Regions from separate parts of the Homo sapiens genome. Here all the other regions are linked to region 1. The links are contacts of gene promoters, found by promoter capture Hi-C in blood cells and fetal thymus (Javierre and others, 2016). All regions are on one chromosome and are shown on one strand. Each heading gives the region's core, a stretch centred on a gene start or on the middle of the fragment in contact. The rest is flanking DNA. Distances are from core to core; before and after follow the strand shown. Region 1 holds the start of ZNF550 (zinc finger protein 550). Region 2 holds the start of ZNF497 (zinc finger protein 497). Region 3 holds the start of ZNF324 (zinc finger protein 324). Region 4 holds the start of ZNF835 (zinc finger protein 835). Region 5 overlaps ZNF329 (zinc finger protein 329).

Region 1 (2,700 bases), core at 11-2,510:
ACAGAAAACCCAAAATAAGAGAAAGAATGGCCAAAATCCCAGTCAGGATGACATGTCCATGACTCTTCTGGGCAAAGCCAAATAAGAGAGAAAGGGGGCAGTAACCAGGTGGGTCCCTGAATTTCCCTCCTTTTCCAGAATACCTAATAATTATTCCACTCTCTAATTAAAGAAACACCCACAAAATAGGAATGCTGTGTGGTCACAGGAGAAGGGGGAAAACATCAAGCTGTTAAAATTAGCTACTCCAACAAGAAGACTGGGCTGATGAGACCTTAACAAACAGGATTGGGGCTAGGCTGTCCCATGACGCTAGATTTGACCCATTTCCTACCCCAGACCTAATTATACACTCATTGCCACATTAAATCACACACCCACCAGTGCCAGGCCAATCCAAGCACGCCCACATTTAGTATAAAAATGGTTGGCACCCCAATTCTAAGAAATTCCCACCTTTTCCTAGAAAAACCTCATGATTATCCCACCCCCTAATTAGAAGAGCCCATAAAATTAGAAACCCAAACTCCATTGTGCATGACCCGCTCTCCCTCGTACGTCCGCATTTCCCTCTTCTCTTGGGAAAAGTACACTCTTCTCAAAAATGTGTACTTTTTCTTCCCAATAAAAGCTTCTTGCCTTTGGCTTCATTTTGACTCATCCCTGCATTCTTTCTCACGATGGTGTCACGAAGCTGGACTCCGGAAGCGGGCGGGGACTCACGGCCCCTGGAGACCTTCCTGAGCCCTGGGCAACACCAGTCCACACAGAGGAGGCAGACGTCCCACAGACGGAACCCCACGAGCATGTCCCGGGAATGGCTCCACGCGGGAAGCGGGGGTCCAGATCCACGCCAGTCCCAGGGACAGTGCCTGGCGTCAGGGTGGAGGAGGACGCAGTAACCAGGCGTAAGATTTTACTGGTACATGGGAATGTCACTGGGTCACTCAGAGGAGGCAAGCGGGGAACCTCGTGGCAGGGCCCCCTTTATCAAACTCGTTTACCTGGGTGCCTGGGCGAGTGCTCACAGCCTGCTTGTAGGGACGTTGAGGCATCCGAATAATAGGAAGTTTTAAAAATTTACAATCCAGTGTGTACACTTGCTCCGCTAAGATCATCTGAGATATACAGAAACATGGTGTGCATAATAAAAAAGGAAAAAGAGCCAAGCCTGGCCTCTTACGGGACAAGACTACATTACCTAGAAGGCAGTGGGCCGGCGCAGGAAAAGGCGTGGCAGGCGACCGCGACACAGGGGCGGGACTTCCGGCCTCGCTGGCGTGGACGTTTGTGGTGGGGCGTGTTGGTCCGCGCTCTCAGAACTGTGCTGGGAAGGATGGTAGGGCGACTGGGGCTCACCTCCGCACCGTTGTAGGACCCGGGGTAGGGTTTTGAGCCCGTGGGAGCTGCCCCACGCGGCCTCGTCCTGCCAACGGTCGGATGGCGGAGACGAAGGACGCAGCGCAGGTGAGCAGACTGGCTCGGCTCCCCGCGGCCACCCGGCCTCAGTGTCCCGGGCCCGACGAGCGGAAGGACGGCGTTTCAGGGTCGTCCTCAGTGCAGTCCCTGCCGTTGCTTCTTAGAGGCCTAGAAGGGGGTCGCGCGGTCCCGGGTCCGGAATGCAGGCCCGCGGTGGCGTGGGGAGCGTCCCCGTTTCTGGGGTGCGCGGCGTTGTGGTATGAAATAGGGCTTTTAGGGTCCCGGAACCCCTCACAGGTGAGAGGAGCGACCGCAGTCCTCCTCGTGGCTCTTCCAACCATGTCCTTTCTCGGGCCTGCGACCTTGAACAAGTCCCGTTACTGTCCTCGTCCTTCATTTTTGCGCGCGCAAAGTAGAAATATTTACTCTTCCCCCCCCCGGGGTTGAGGAAGCTTGAACGGCTCCCTGGGTGATGTGTGTGTGTCCGTCTCAGTGCACAGCACGGTCCGGGGACGTCGCTCAGGATGTTGTTTCCGGAGCTGCTCCCTGGGCCTGTGCTAGGTTTGGAGACTCAACCCCAGCAGGAGTCTGACCCTCTGGCCTCCTTGGCCTCCTGTCTCTACAACACGAAGGGCAGCGGCTGAAAGAGGTGGGAGGAGCGTTTCTGCGGTTGCTGCTATGCCAGGGCAGAAAAGGTGGTAGGGCAGGCTGAGGAATTTGTCTTTCAGTTTAGGGCAAGGGACGCTGGGTTGCAACTAACAGTATATTTTCCTGTTTAAGACATTTAGTTACAGGTGAAAAACGAGTCCATTAAAATGTTCAGTGGCGATGGTATGCAGGATGTAGTGTCCCTTTGGAGATAACACATGAGGCCCAGGGTTACTCTCTAGCAGTCACTCTGATTACTTTCATGATAGCCCAGATTACTGTCAGCTCCTGTCGTAGTTGTTAATTTCTCATCCACCTCTCCCTCCTTTGCTTTATTTCTGACTCCCTCTGGTGTCCGCTGCTTAAAGAGGTCTCGTCTGTTGCACCGTTTAAAGCTGACCAGAGTCTCTTTGGTCTCCTTGCTCTGTTTTCTTGTCATCTGAATCTTTAAGGCCATCTGACATTGCCTTACTCATTTATTTAGTTGCCTGTTTAGGATCTTTTTCCAACCCTGGAATGTGAGTGCCTGTTGCTTCCCTCTCCCAAGACCCAGAACAGCCAGGCTTAAGTACATTTATTGTACTTAATAAATGGTTGATGATTGAATAGGCCTCTCTTATAGGGACTCTCATC
Region 2 (2,700 bases), core at 53-2,552, 800 kb before region 1:
TTGGTACAAAAAGAGCTCGTGGAGGCCGGGTGCAGTGGCTCGGGTCTGTAATCCTAGCACTTTGGGAGGCCAAGGTGGGAGGATCACTTGAGCCCAGAAGTTCAAGACCAGCCTGGGCCATATAGCGAGACCCCGTCTCTAGCTATTCATTTATTTTAGCTTACAGCATCTGGTCTATGTTGTTTTTTGAGACGGAGTCTTGCTCTGTCACCCAGGCTGGAGTGTGCAGTGGCACGACCTCAGCTCACTGTAACTTCTGCCTCCCCGGTTCAAGCGATTCTCCTGCCTCAGCCTCCCGAGTAGCTGGGATTATAGGCACACGCCAACAAGCCTAATTTTTGTATTTTCAGTAGAGACGGGGTTTCACCATGTTGGTCAGGCTGGTCTCGAACTCCTGACCTCGTGATCTGCCCGCCTCGGCCTCCCAAAGTTCTGGGATTACAGGCGTGAGCCACCGCGCCCGGTTTATTTATTTATTTTAGCCAACAGCACTCGGTGTTCCCAGACGGTCTCCCAAGTACTAACCAGGCCCGACCCTGCTTAGCTTCTGAGATCCCGACTCAATTTTTTTTTTTTTTTTTTGAGACGGAGTCTCGTTCTGTCGCCCCAGGCTGGAGTGCAGTGTCGCGATCTCGGCTCACTGCAAGCTCCGCCTCCCAGGTTCAAGCGATTCTCCTGCCTCAGCCTCCCGAGTAGCTGGGACTACAGGCGCCCGCCACCACGCCCGGCTAATTTTTTGTATTTTTAGTAGAGACGGGGTTTCTCCGTGTTAGCCAGGATGGTCTCGATCTCCTGACCTCGTGATCCGCCCGCCTCGACCTCCCAAAGTGCTGGGATTACAGGCGTGAGTCACCGCGCCCGGCCCCCGACTCTATTTTAAAAACCGCGTGGATTCCAGCTTGGTGGGTGTTCCACAGCGCGTGGGTGTGAGACGCAGCTCAGTGGCGTCAACTCAGCAAGGTTCCAGGGTGGTAAAGACGGCCTGGGGCCGGAGGAGGACCGCCAGGGAGAAGCTACGTTGGCCCGACTTGCGTCCGCGACCCGGGCAGCCCCAGGCGCCTGTGTAGCTGTTGGGTGTGTGCCGCAGAGGCTGGCCGGGTGCAGGAAGGGGCGGAGCGCATCCATGGCAACGCAGGACGCCCGAGTAGCTTGGCTGTGGCGCCGTCCCCATGGGAACCAGAAGGCGCGCGCCCGCAGCCGCGGCATAGTTACGCAGGCGCAGTGGGGAGAAACGCGACGCCTTGGGCCGCTCTGCCGAATGCAACCGCGCCCCCAGGAGACCCGGTGCCCGCCCTCCTACCATTCCACGCGGCTCGAGCCCGCGTGCGGGCCTCTTTCAGGCCGCTCCTAGTGGACGCAGAGGCGGGCCGAGGACGGTGAGTGACGCCGACGGACACCCTCGGCCAGGCACAGATCCGCCCTCCGGCTCCAACCACTCCCGCCGCGCGGGGCAGGACGGGCCTCGGCCCTGAGCTGGGCCCTCTGGGACCACCGAGAGATAGGCCTCCGCGCCGTCCAGAGCGGCCCGGAAGTGGCCCTGCACGGGCCAGAGGCGACCGTGGTCGGGACGGAAATGGCTCCCGTTTGCTGTTCTCTCGGTGAACGCGAGCCTTATGGCGATCAGTTCTGTGGCATCGTTCCTCCTGCTCGTTTATTCTTTCACTCATTCACTCATGCCCTGCCGCGCCATCATTTCTTCCCACATTCATTTATTCGTTCATCAGTCCCCAGCCCCGGGTAGTTTCGGAGCTCACCAGGCTGGGCTCGCCTCCCAGCCTCCGGAGCTGCCCGCACAGGCCTCGCGCCACCTGGCCGCAGCTTCCTCCCCTTTATCCACTCCGTATTTGTTTGTCCAGCCTAGGCCTTGGGGGTTGTGGGGGAGACACAAGTACCCGTGACTGGTCGGACAAGTGCCCGTTGTTGGGGGCGTGGGCGCTGGGACTGACGCGGGAGGTGGCTCTGATCATGTCGAGGTGAGGAGGAGGCGTTGAGGCTCAGAAAGGGCACGCAGCGTGGACGTGAGGACGTCGGGGAGGCTGGAGCAGTGAGGCCGACAGGAAGGACCTTACGGGGCTCACATGCTATCCCACGACGAGGACGGACTCAGGACGGCAGCCCTGATAGATGCGGCTGGGGGCTGGCGGGTCGGGGTCGCACACCACAGGATGGAGGGGCAGCGGTGCCTGGCTCCGCCTTAAGAAACATGGGCCCTTGGGGGACCCGGATTTCTGATACTTCAATACACAAATATGGATTTTTATTGAAATCAGATGTCGTTTTTTTAAAATTTAACTTTTGATTTGAGGTAATTATAAATTCACATGCAGTAACAAGTAATGCATACCCTATGTACGCTTTACCCAATTCCCCTAAAGGTGGCATCTTGAAAAACTAGAGGCCAGGTGCGGTGGCTCATGTCTGTAATCCCAGCACTTTGGGAGGCCAAGGCGGGTGGATCCCTTGAGCTCAGGAGTTAAAGACCAGCCTGAGCAACATGGTGAAACCCCATCTGTACTGAAAACACAAAAATTAGGCGGGTGTGGAGGCTGGTGCCTGTAATCCCAGCTACTCGGGAGTCTCAGGCAGGAGAATCGCTTGTACCCAGGAGGCGGAGGTCGCGGTGAGCCCACATCACGCCACTGCACTCCAACCTGGGCAACAGAGCGAGACTCTGTCTCAAAAAAAGAGAAGAGAAAGAAA
Region 3 (2,726 bases), core at 89-2,588, 910 kb before region 1:
TCCTCCTTTCACCCGGTGTCCCCTTTCTTCCCCTCTCTGTTGCCACCCTCCCCTCCTCAGTTAGGTGCTAGGCTCTTCCCAATAGCCCCAGGCATCCCAGCTGGTCTTCTTTACCCTCAAGCCATAACTGCCCACACCTGGCTGAGTCCCTGCCCATTCCTCAGTCCAATTCATAGGCCCTGTCCACAGCCCAGGACGCCAACAACGTCAGGTCCAGTGACATGACCAACCTGGGACATCCCAGACTCTTGATCTTTCCCCTGAAGGAAACCTGCTTTCCTTTCAATTCTCCTTTCTATCTACAGCAGCTCTCTTCTTCCAGGCGCTCAGGCTGAACAACATGGGGTACTTAGTTCTTCAAACAGCCCACACCTGATGCATCCGCAGATCCACCAGAATTCACCTGGTCGCCCACCTCCACTGCTGCCCAGACTGTGGCAGTCGGTTCTTCCCTTCATGCCGACACCCCTGCATGTCTGTTCTCCACGCAACAAACGGTGGAACCGTTTTAAAGTCCTCAGAGGATGTCCTGATTCTGTTCAAAACTTCTATGTCTCCCGACGCCCTCGAGATAAAGCCCACTCCCTCGCCTGATACTGCAGCCGCACACATCCCCTCTACTCCAGCTCCACATCGAGAGAGCTCAGTCCCAGAAGCACCTGGGCTTCGGCTCCCCTCCCAGGTTTTGCACACGCAGGACTCTCCCCTCGGAGCCTCCTTCGGGACCTCAGCCCCCTGGCTGCCCGAACTCGGGAGCTCACCAGTGCCCTGGACGCAGGAGTTTGCACTGACCCCCGCAACCCCCCCAGGGCAGGGAGAGGAAAGACGACTAGGCGAGGTCTAGGAAGCGGCCTCCCTCCGTGAGGGCGCGGTCTGTGTGAGCAGGGACTCCCCTGCTTCCCCGACGCGGGCTTGTCAGCGCCACCGCCGCCAGCGGAACCCGCAGCTGGGAGGGAAGAAAGGCGTGGACCACCCAGCCTTTCCCCGCCAGCAGCGTCCCGGGGCCGCCCCGCGCCTCAGTCTCCCCGGCCATCATGGACGTGGAACGCCCAGCGCGCAGCCTCCTGGGCTGCCGCACGGTGGGAGAGCGCATGGCTCCCGCCGCGGCCCGACAGTCCCCTGGACGCCCACGACGCACTCTGAGAAACAGAGGCTTGGGGGCGCGGCCGGCGGCCGGCGCCCTTGATCACGACGCGTGCGCAGGGCGGGCCCGACGCGGGCCCTCAGCCAGTACCTTCCTCGCCGCCAGCCTCGAGCACCAGGAACCCCCTGGAAACCGGACCCGACCCGCGGTCCCCAGCCCAGACCACCGGTGTGGCCTGACGCGGGCGGCGAAGTGACAGTCCCACCGCCGGAAGTCCAGCCCTTCGGTTCTCATTGGCCCAGTGCGCGCCGCGGACGCTTGCGTACAGCCTTCCGGGTCACGTGGTTCCCGCCTGTTTCCCTGCGTGGAGGCGGGGCCACTACCGGTCTCCTTGGCAACGTCCAAGCCCCTGCCGCGCGGGGCGCTGGGAAATGGAGTCGCGCGGCGGCCTCGGGTTTTCAAGGGCTTGGTGGCGCTGGTGGATTCGCCCGGTGTGTAGTCCTGCCTTCGGCATTCCAGGTGTCCTCCCAAGCAGTCCCGGAGACTAAACCCTGCAGGTGCGAAAGCAGAAACTGCCGAGGTTCCAAGAGGCAACACCAGCAGTGAGCACGGAGGAGAAAATGCACCGGGTAGCGCAGGTGGAGGTGGAGGAGCCGATGCCTGGAGCTCCGGGTTCCCTTCCCAGCTCTGCCTCTCACTGACTGTGCGTCCTGGGCGCGGGTTTGACCTCTCTGTGTCAATGTCCCGTAAAGGTTTAAGGTCCGTTTTCAACCTTTACACCAAGAATTCTCAGCCCGTAAGCCTACATTTGTCTTAAGTATGAGACTGTTCCTCGACACTTGCCCAAAGCATCTGTTTTCCTTGTAATTTGGATGGGCAGAAGTTAATTCCCCAGATTTGCTTGTCCTTAGACCATCTAGATCTTGTCTTGCCCCACACATCACAATATTCATTCTTTTTTCCTTTTTTCTTGGGACTCATTTAAGTTTTTTTTTTTTTTTTTTAACAGGGTCTTTGTTCTGTTGCCCGTGCTGGAGTGCAGTGGCACAATCTCGGCTCACTGCAACCTCTGCCTTCAGGTTCAAGTGATCCCCCCGCCTCAGCCTCCGTAGTAGCTGGGACCACAGGTGTGCGCCACCATGCCTGGCTAATTTTTGTATTTTTTAGTAGAGATGGAGTTTCACCATGTTGGCCAGGCTGGTCTTGAACTCCTGACCTCAGGTGATCCGCCCACCTCGTTCTCCCAAAGTGCTGGGATTACAGGCCAATTTAAGTGTCTTTGACACATAAAAACGAAAGGCAGAGCAGTCTCAATGTAGACTGTCTTGTTTGGCAGATAATAAAAGGTTCTTTGTCTTGTTTTTGGAACCTGTAGACAGTTCTCAGCTGTCCAGTTCCTTAACTCTTTTTGCCTCCCTCCCTCTATACCTACCTCCATCTATAACTATCTCTCTGTCAACTGTCAGCTATAACTGTCCACCTAATTGATTCTACTTGTAAATCCTTGTAGAGCAAGGGAGCTCATCATGTTTGGAATGTTTTAATATAAATTTTGCTACTTTGAAAGAATTTAAGAACATTTCAGGACTGGGCGCAGTGGCTCACACCTGGAATCTGAGCACTTTGGGTGGCCAAGGTGAGC
Region 4 (2,700 bases), core at 85-2,584, 890 kb after region 1:
TTTCTAACGTAAAAACAATTTTTTTCTTTTCAAGATTTTTTCTTAAAAAGATGAGAGAAACATATTTTTTCAGGAAAAACAAACTTTAAAAAAAAAAGAGGAGAAATAAAACCTTTTCTCCCCTTTCCCCATCCTCTATCTATCCCTGTTTCCCAGGAACAAATCAAAAGGTGGATTATCTTCTGAAGAATGGAAACTGTTAGTCCAGAATGATGTCTTTTTCTCAATGCAGTGAGTTATAGATTCTCTAGTTTTCTCCCTAGGGATGGGAAGGGGGCATTGACGCAAGCCTGGAGAGGAGCCCGGGGAGCAGGGTCATGAAGTTTTTTCTTCAGTGAAGGAGGAATACAATCAAGGGTTTTGTATTCAGAATGTTGTGCAATATTTTGGAATAGGACATTGGTGTGTTTAGAGATTTTAGTTTAAAAACAAAACAAAAAGATTGATCAAATCTGTACAGTTTCTATTGTTCCAGATTTTTTAAAGTTTGTATTAAAAGCATGATACATAATAAAAATAAATAAATAAATAAAACTAAAAAGTAAAATGAAATTCTTCATCTATGTTAATGGATTTGCCACCTTCTTTGCCATAGACTGGAATGACATCAGCTACCTGAGACCAAAATAAAAGTGTGGGTTGCAAACCCTGGCACCTACCTTTTTAGATTCCGCAGCCTGCAGTAGGGACTTAGCCTGTCTGAACCTCAGCTTCCTTCTTTCTTCTTCTTTTTTTTTGAGACGAAGTCTCGCTCTGTCACCCAGGCTGGAGTGCAGTGGTGCGATCTCAGCTCACTGCAACCCTCGCCTCCCAGGTTCAAGCCATTCTCCCGCCTCAGCCTTCCAAGTAGCTGGAAGTGCATGCCACCATGCTCGGCTAATTTTTGTATTTTTAGTAGAGACGGGGGTTTCGCCATATTGGCCAGGCTGGTCTCGAACTCCTGACCTCAGGTGATCCACCCGCCTCGGCCTCCCTAAGCGCTGGGATGACAGGTGCCCGGACTCAAGTTCCTTCTTTCTAAGCCTGTGGGCTCGGCCTCATCCCCTGAGCAAGAAAAAAGTCCCACCCCTGAGTTACTGGAAGCGCCCACCGCCATGCACTGAGGCTGTAGTGGGCGGGGCTCGGGGCAGCAGCCCGGCGCTCCTCGGGCCCCCAGGGGTCAGCGCCCTGCGGACCTAGCGTGTGCAGACGCTTAGCCTTCTGGGAGTTGTAGTTTCGATGACCCAGGCTTTGCAAGCTTTAGTCGCGGTGCCGGCGAGCGCGCAGCGCCCCCTGGGAGTCGTAGTTCCTAAGAACCAGGCGGGCCCGATGCGCAGGCGCAGTCCACCCCGGCCTGGTGCGCGGGCTCCTCCGCAGCAGCAGAAGTCTTGACCTTAGCTCGTCTAAGGAAGGAGGCACCAGGGTCTGCGTTGGCCCAGGAGGACCCGAGACTGAGTAGAAGCGGAGCCGACTGCACCAGGCTAGGAGGGGGCCGGCCAGCGCGTTCGAAGGTGATACCGGGAGGCGAGAGCAACGGTGTGTAGTGTGCGCGTGTTCCTGCAGGTGTGTGACCGCGTGTGAGCCCGTCCCCGAGTGCCATTGTGTCTGCACCTGTTCACTTAGCGGTGTCAGCCCGTATAGGTGTGTGACTGCCTGTGAGCCCGTCCCTGAGTAACACAGCGTCTGCACCTGGTCACTCGACGGTACCAGCAGGTGCAGGTGTGTGACTGCCTGTGAGCCTGTCACTGCATCTGCACCTGCTTACTCGGCGGTGCCAGCCCGTCACTGTGTCTGTACCTGCTCACTTGGCGGTGCCAGGCCGTGCAGGTGTGTGACTGGCTGTGAGCCTGTCCCTGAGTGTCACAGCGTCTGCACCTGCTCACTCGACGGTACCAGCAGGTGCAGGTGTGTGACTGCCTGTGAGCCCGTCCCTGAGTGTCACAGCGTCTGCCCCTGCTCACTTGGCGGTGCCAGCCCATCACTGTGTCTGTACCTGCTCACTCGGCGGTGCCAGGCCTTGCAGGTGTGTGACTGCCTGTGAGCCCGTCCCCGAGTGTCACTGTGTCTGCACCTGCTCACTCAGTGGTGCCAGCCCAGGCAGGTGACTGCAGGTAAAGGCATGTAACACTTTATCGGTGTGTTATGTGCTCGTTCATGTGAAGCGGTGTCTGCATATCACAGCATGTCACATACACGTGTGGCTGCCTTTGGGCAAGTCTGAAAGTTCTCCTGGATGTGAGGTGTGTGACCCCACGTGTGCATGTCTGGGTGTGCCGCCGTGTAGGCTGGCTCGGCCCGTGTGCCTGCCAGCACAATGATGGGTGACCTGGCTGTGCGAGCCTGTAGAGTGCCGTGCTGTCTGAAGTGTGTGCATCTGCACATGATGGAGACGCTGCACATGTGGGCTTTGGCTATGCTGGAGCTCTATCCACCGAGTGTGACTGCACATGTGTCCAGCCATCCCCTGTGGGTGTGTCCCAGTAATGGCCGGCCTGTGTGGAGCAGGTGGCATGTGTGACCTTGTGCGTCTCTGTGCACCTCTTCACACAGGGAGCTACGTGTGGGGCTGGGTGTGTGTGTAGCTACGTGTGCCCGGGACCCTGTGTGCATGTGTGAGTGTGGCTGCAGGTGATGGCTTCCCACCTGCCTCCTTGCATGGGGGTTAGGAGGGCGACTGTGTGTCCCTGGATATGGGTTTGGGTGTCTCTGCATGTCTGTGTG
Region 5 (2,700 bases), core at 146-2,645, 570 kb before region 1:
TTCACAGCTGCCACTAAGGTACCCTGCCAAGCACGCTGACCACTTTCCAAGCCCTCTTCCCTTGTGACCTACCAAAGCTTTATATTATTGTACTTCATTTTATTTTTACTCACGTGAAATGTGTATATTTTGTGTTCTTAAAGTCGCAGTTTGGAATTGCCTGAATGATAGAATGAGAAAATAAATATTGATGTTTTCAGGACATTTCTTTTTTTTCTTTCTTTTTTTTTTTTTTTTGAGGCAGAGTCTCGCCCTGTTGCCCAGGCTGGAGTGCAGTGGCGCTATCGCGGCTCACTGCAAGCTCTGCCTCCCGGGTTCATGCCATTCTCCTGCCTCAGCCTCCCAAGTAGCTGGGACTACAGGCGCCCGCCACCACGCCTGGCTAATTTTTTGTATTTTTAATAGAGACGGGGTTTCACCGTGTCAGCCAGGATGGTCTCGATCTCCTGACCTTGTGGTCCACCTGCCTCAGCCTCCCAAAGTGCTGGGATTACAGGCGTGACCCACTGCTCCCAGCCAATGTTTTCAGGACATTTCTATTTTCCCTTCACGAAGTGCTCTTTGATTACTTTGCCCATTTTTTTTCTTTTTATGTGCTGTTCTGTAAGAATCCTCTGTAGTTCTTGGGCAGTAATTCTTTGTGCTTTTAAATCTTATTTTCTCTCTGTAAGAATCCTCTATAGCTCTTGGGCAATAATTCTTTGTGCTTTTAAGTCCTATTTTCTCCCTATCTGCCACTTGCATTTTGTCTCTTATTGTGTCTTTTATTGGATGGAAAATTTGAATGCTGATATCAGACTTCTTAATCCTTGTCTGTTTTTTATTTTTTGGTTTTTGTTTTTTGTTTTTAAGACATGGTCTCTTTTGCCCAATCTGGAATGCAGTGGCACAATTACAGCTCACTGCAGCCTCAGCCTTCTGTGTGGGCTCAAGTGATAACTCCCACTTCAGCCTCCCAGAGTGCTGGGATTACAGGCATGACCCCCAATGCTTGGCCATATGGTTTTTTGGTTAAGTTTTGTTGATCAAAGTCTGCCACACTTATGAAGGCATACTACATTATTTAAACTTTGACTTTATGTTGCAGCCTGTATCCTTCTGAAATGTAAATACACGCGCACACACACACACACACACACATATACACATATACATGTATATATATTTAAATTGCCTAGAATGTAGACATATATGTATGTATGTATTCTGAGGCAAGGGTCTATTTTCATTTTACCTTAAAAAATAGAAAGAAGGCTGGGCACAATGGCTCATCCCTGTATTTGCAGCATTTTGGGAGGCTGAGGTGGGATAATTGCTTGAAGTTTTTGAGATTGAGGCTTCAGTGAACCAAGATCACACCACTGCACTTCAGCCTGAATGACAGAGCGAGACCCGATCCCACCAAATGAATGAACGAATGAATGGACAACCAGTTGTCTTAATATTGTGAAGTCTGAATGGACAAGGATGGTGACAGGAAGATTGATATGCATGAAGACACATGCAACCATTTACAGAATGCCCTTCATCCCCTAGCCTTGGAGACTGCTTTGTACATGATCCAGTTTTTTTTTTTTTTTTTTTTTGAGACGGAGTCTTGCTCTGTGGCCCAGGCTGGAGTGCAGTGGCACGATCTTGGCTCACTGCAAGCTCCGCCTCCCGGGTTCGCGCCATTCTCCTGCCTCAGCCTCCCGAGTAGCTGGGACTACAGGCGCCCGCCACCACGCCTGGCTAATTGTTTGTATTTTTTTAGTAGAGACGGGGTTTCACCACGTTAGCCAGGATGGTCTCAATCTCCTGACCTTGTGATCTGCCCACCTCGGCCTCCCAAAGTGCTGGGATTACAGGCGTGACCACCGCGCCTGGCCGACATGATCCAGTTTTTATAACAACCATGCAGGGCAGTCTTTGACAGTTTTTGTTTTGTTTTGTTTTTTGAGATGGAGTCTCACTCTGCCGCGTAGGCTGGAGTGCAGTGGTGTGATCTCAGCTCACTGCAACCTCTGCCTACCAGGTTGAAGTGATTCTCCTGCCTCAGCCTCCAGAGTAGCTGGGACTACAGGCATGTGCCACCACGCCTGGCTGATTTTTTTTGTATTTTTAGTAGAGACGGTGTTTCACCATGTTGGTCAGGCTGGTCTTGAACTCCTGACTTCAAATGATCCACCTGCCTCCACTTCCCAAAGTGCTGGGATTACAGGAGTGAACCACTGTGCCCCGCCAGGTCATTGACAGTTCTAAGACTTAGACCCAGAACTTTTAGGTCACCAAGCCTGTGCTTTGTCCTATCCATGAATGCAGAACTTTGATGACAGAGCTGGGGTGAGAACTGTTCCTTCAGTGCTGTTGTAAGCTCATTGTGAAGTCAGAGCTTTGGAAATGTGTACTGATGGGCAGTGTGTGACAGGGACAAGAATGCAGTGGCTGGGATGGAATTCTAGGGGGAGCAGGGATGCTTGGCCTCTGGTCTCTCACATCTCAAACTAATCCTTTTGGTGATGATTTATCCCGAGGTCCATTCCTCCTGCCTGCTCTCTAGGAAGATGAAAATGCTACATGGCTCTTTTTGAATCTGTTCTTGGTTCCATTCCTTGGCTACGATTTTACCTCTTCCTTGTATAAATTTGAATTTAAAAGAGAAAACAAGTAAAAAAATACACATCTTTACACCTAGCCCATCATCATTGTCTGTTTCTCTTA

What was found. The method cuts DNA at HindIII sites, captures the fragments that hold promoters and counts their contacts. A CHiCAGO score of 5 or more calls a contact.
Region 2: a contact is called between the fragment with the promoter of ZNF497 here and the fragment with the promoter of ZNF550 in region 1, in 9 of 17 cell types (total CD8 T cells, non-activated CD4 T cells, naive CD4 T cells and 6 more). The highest score is 15.0, in total CD8 T cells.
Region 3: a contact is called between the fragment with the promoter of ZNF324 here and the fragment with the promoter of ZNF550 in region 1, in 13 of 17 cell types (total CD8 T cells, non-activated CD4 T cells, neutrophils and 10 more). The highest score is 13.1, in total CD8 T cells.
Region 4: the fragment with the promoter of ZNF835 here is called in contact with the fragment with the promoter of ZNF550 in region 1 in 9 of 17 cell types (neutrophils, monocytes, naive B cells and 6 more); the score reaches 9.4 in neutrophils.
Region 5: a fragment that was not itself captured here is called in contact with the fragment with the promoter of ZNF550 in region 1 in 4 of 17 cell types (naive CD4 T cells, naive CD8 T cells, total CD8 T cells and 1 more); the score reaches 6.7 in naive CD4 T cells.

The regions. Positions count from the first base shown.
Region 1 is chr19:57,558,423-57,561,122 of GRCh38, reverse strand. It overlaps ZNF550 (zinc finger protein 550), which reads left to right and starts at 1,260. Exons shown (of 4, transcript NM_001397372.1): 1 at 1,260-1,467. The coding sequence starts at 1,441. It overlaps LOC124904781 (a long non-coding RNA gene), which reads right to left and starts at 1,181. Exons shown (of 2, transcript XR_007067357.1): 1 at 1,005-1,181. RefSeq lists enhancers at 899-1,008, 1-1,152, 1,639-1,688, 1,130-1,994, 2,139-2,218. The HindIII fragment of the contact is 1,240 bases long and covers 634-1,873 here.
Region 2 is chr19:58,361,353-58,364,052 of GRCh38, reverse strand. ZNF497 (zinc finger protein 497) reads left to right here and starts at 1,302. Exons shown (of 3, transcript NM_198458.3): 1 at 1,302-1,376. ZNF497-AS1 (ZNF497 antisense RNA 1) reads right to left here and starts at 1,427. Exons shown (of 3, transcript NR_136527.1): 1 at 1,301-1,427. It also overlaps the pseudogene RNA5SP473. RefSeq lists enhancers at 1,608-1,737, 1,467-2,015. The HindIII fragment of the contact is 6,825 bases long and covers 1-2,700 here.
Region 3 is chr19:58,465,692-58,468,417 of GRCh38, reverse strand. It overlaps ZNF324 (zinc finger protein 324), which reads right to left and starts at 1,338. Exons shown (of 4, transcript NM_014347.3): 1 at 1,235-1,338. RefSeq lists enhancers at 376-990, 991-1,607 and silencers at 1,089-1,218, 1,299-1,348. The HindIII fragment of the contact is 6,014 bases long and covers 1-2,726 here.
Region 4 is chr19:56,670,391-56,673,090 of GRCh38, reverse strand. It overlaps ZNF835 (zinc finger protein 835), which reads left to right and starts at 1,334. Exons shown (of 2, transcript NM_001005850.3): 1 at 1,334-1,515. LOC105372473 (a long non-coding RNA gene) reads right to left here and starts at 1,112. Exons shown (of 4, transcript XR_936110.4): 1 at 660-1,112. The HindIII fragment of the contact is 4,177 bases long and covers 1,240-2,700 here.
Region 5 is chr19:58,129,560-58,132,259 of GRCh38, reverse strand. The region is part of intron 3 of ZNF329 (zinc finger protein 329); the gene reads left to right. Among named protein-coding and RNA genes, the nearest start is that of ZNF329, 20 kb to the left of the region's middle. The HindIII fragment of the contact is 2,632 bases long and covers 80-2,700 here.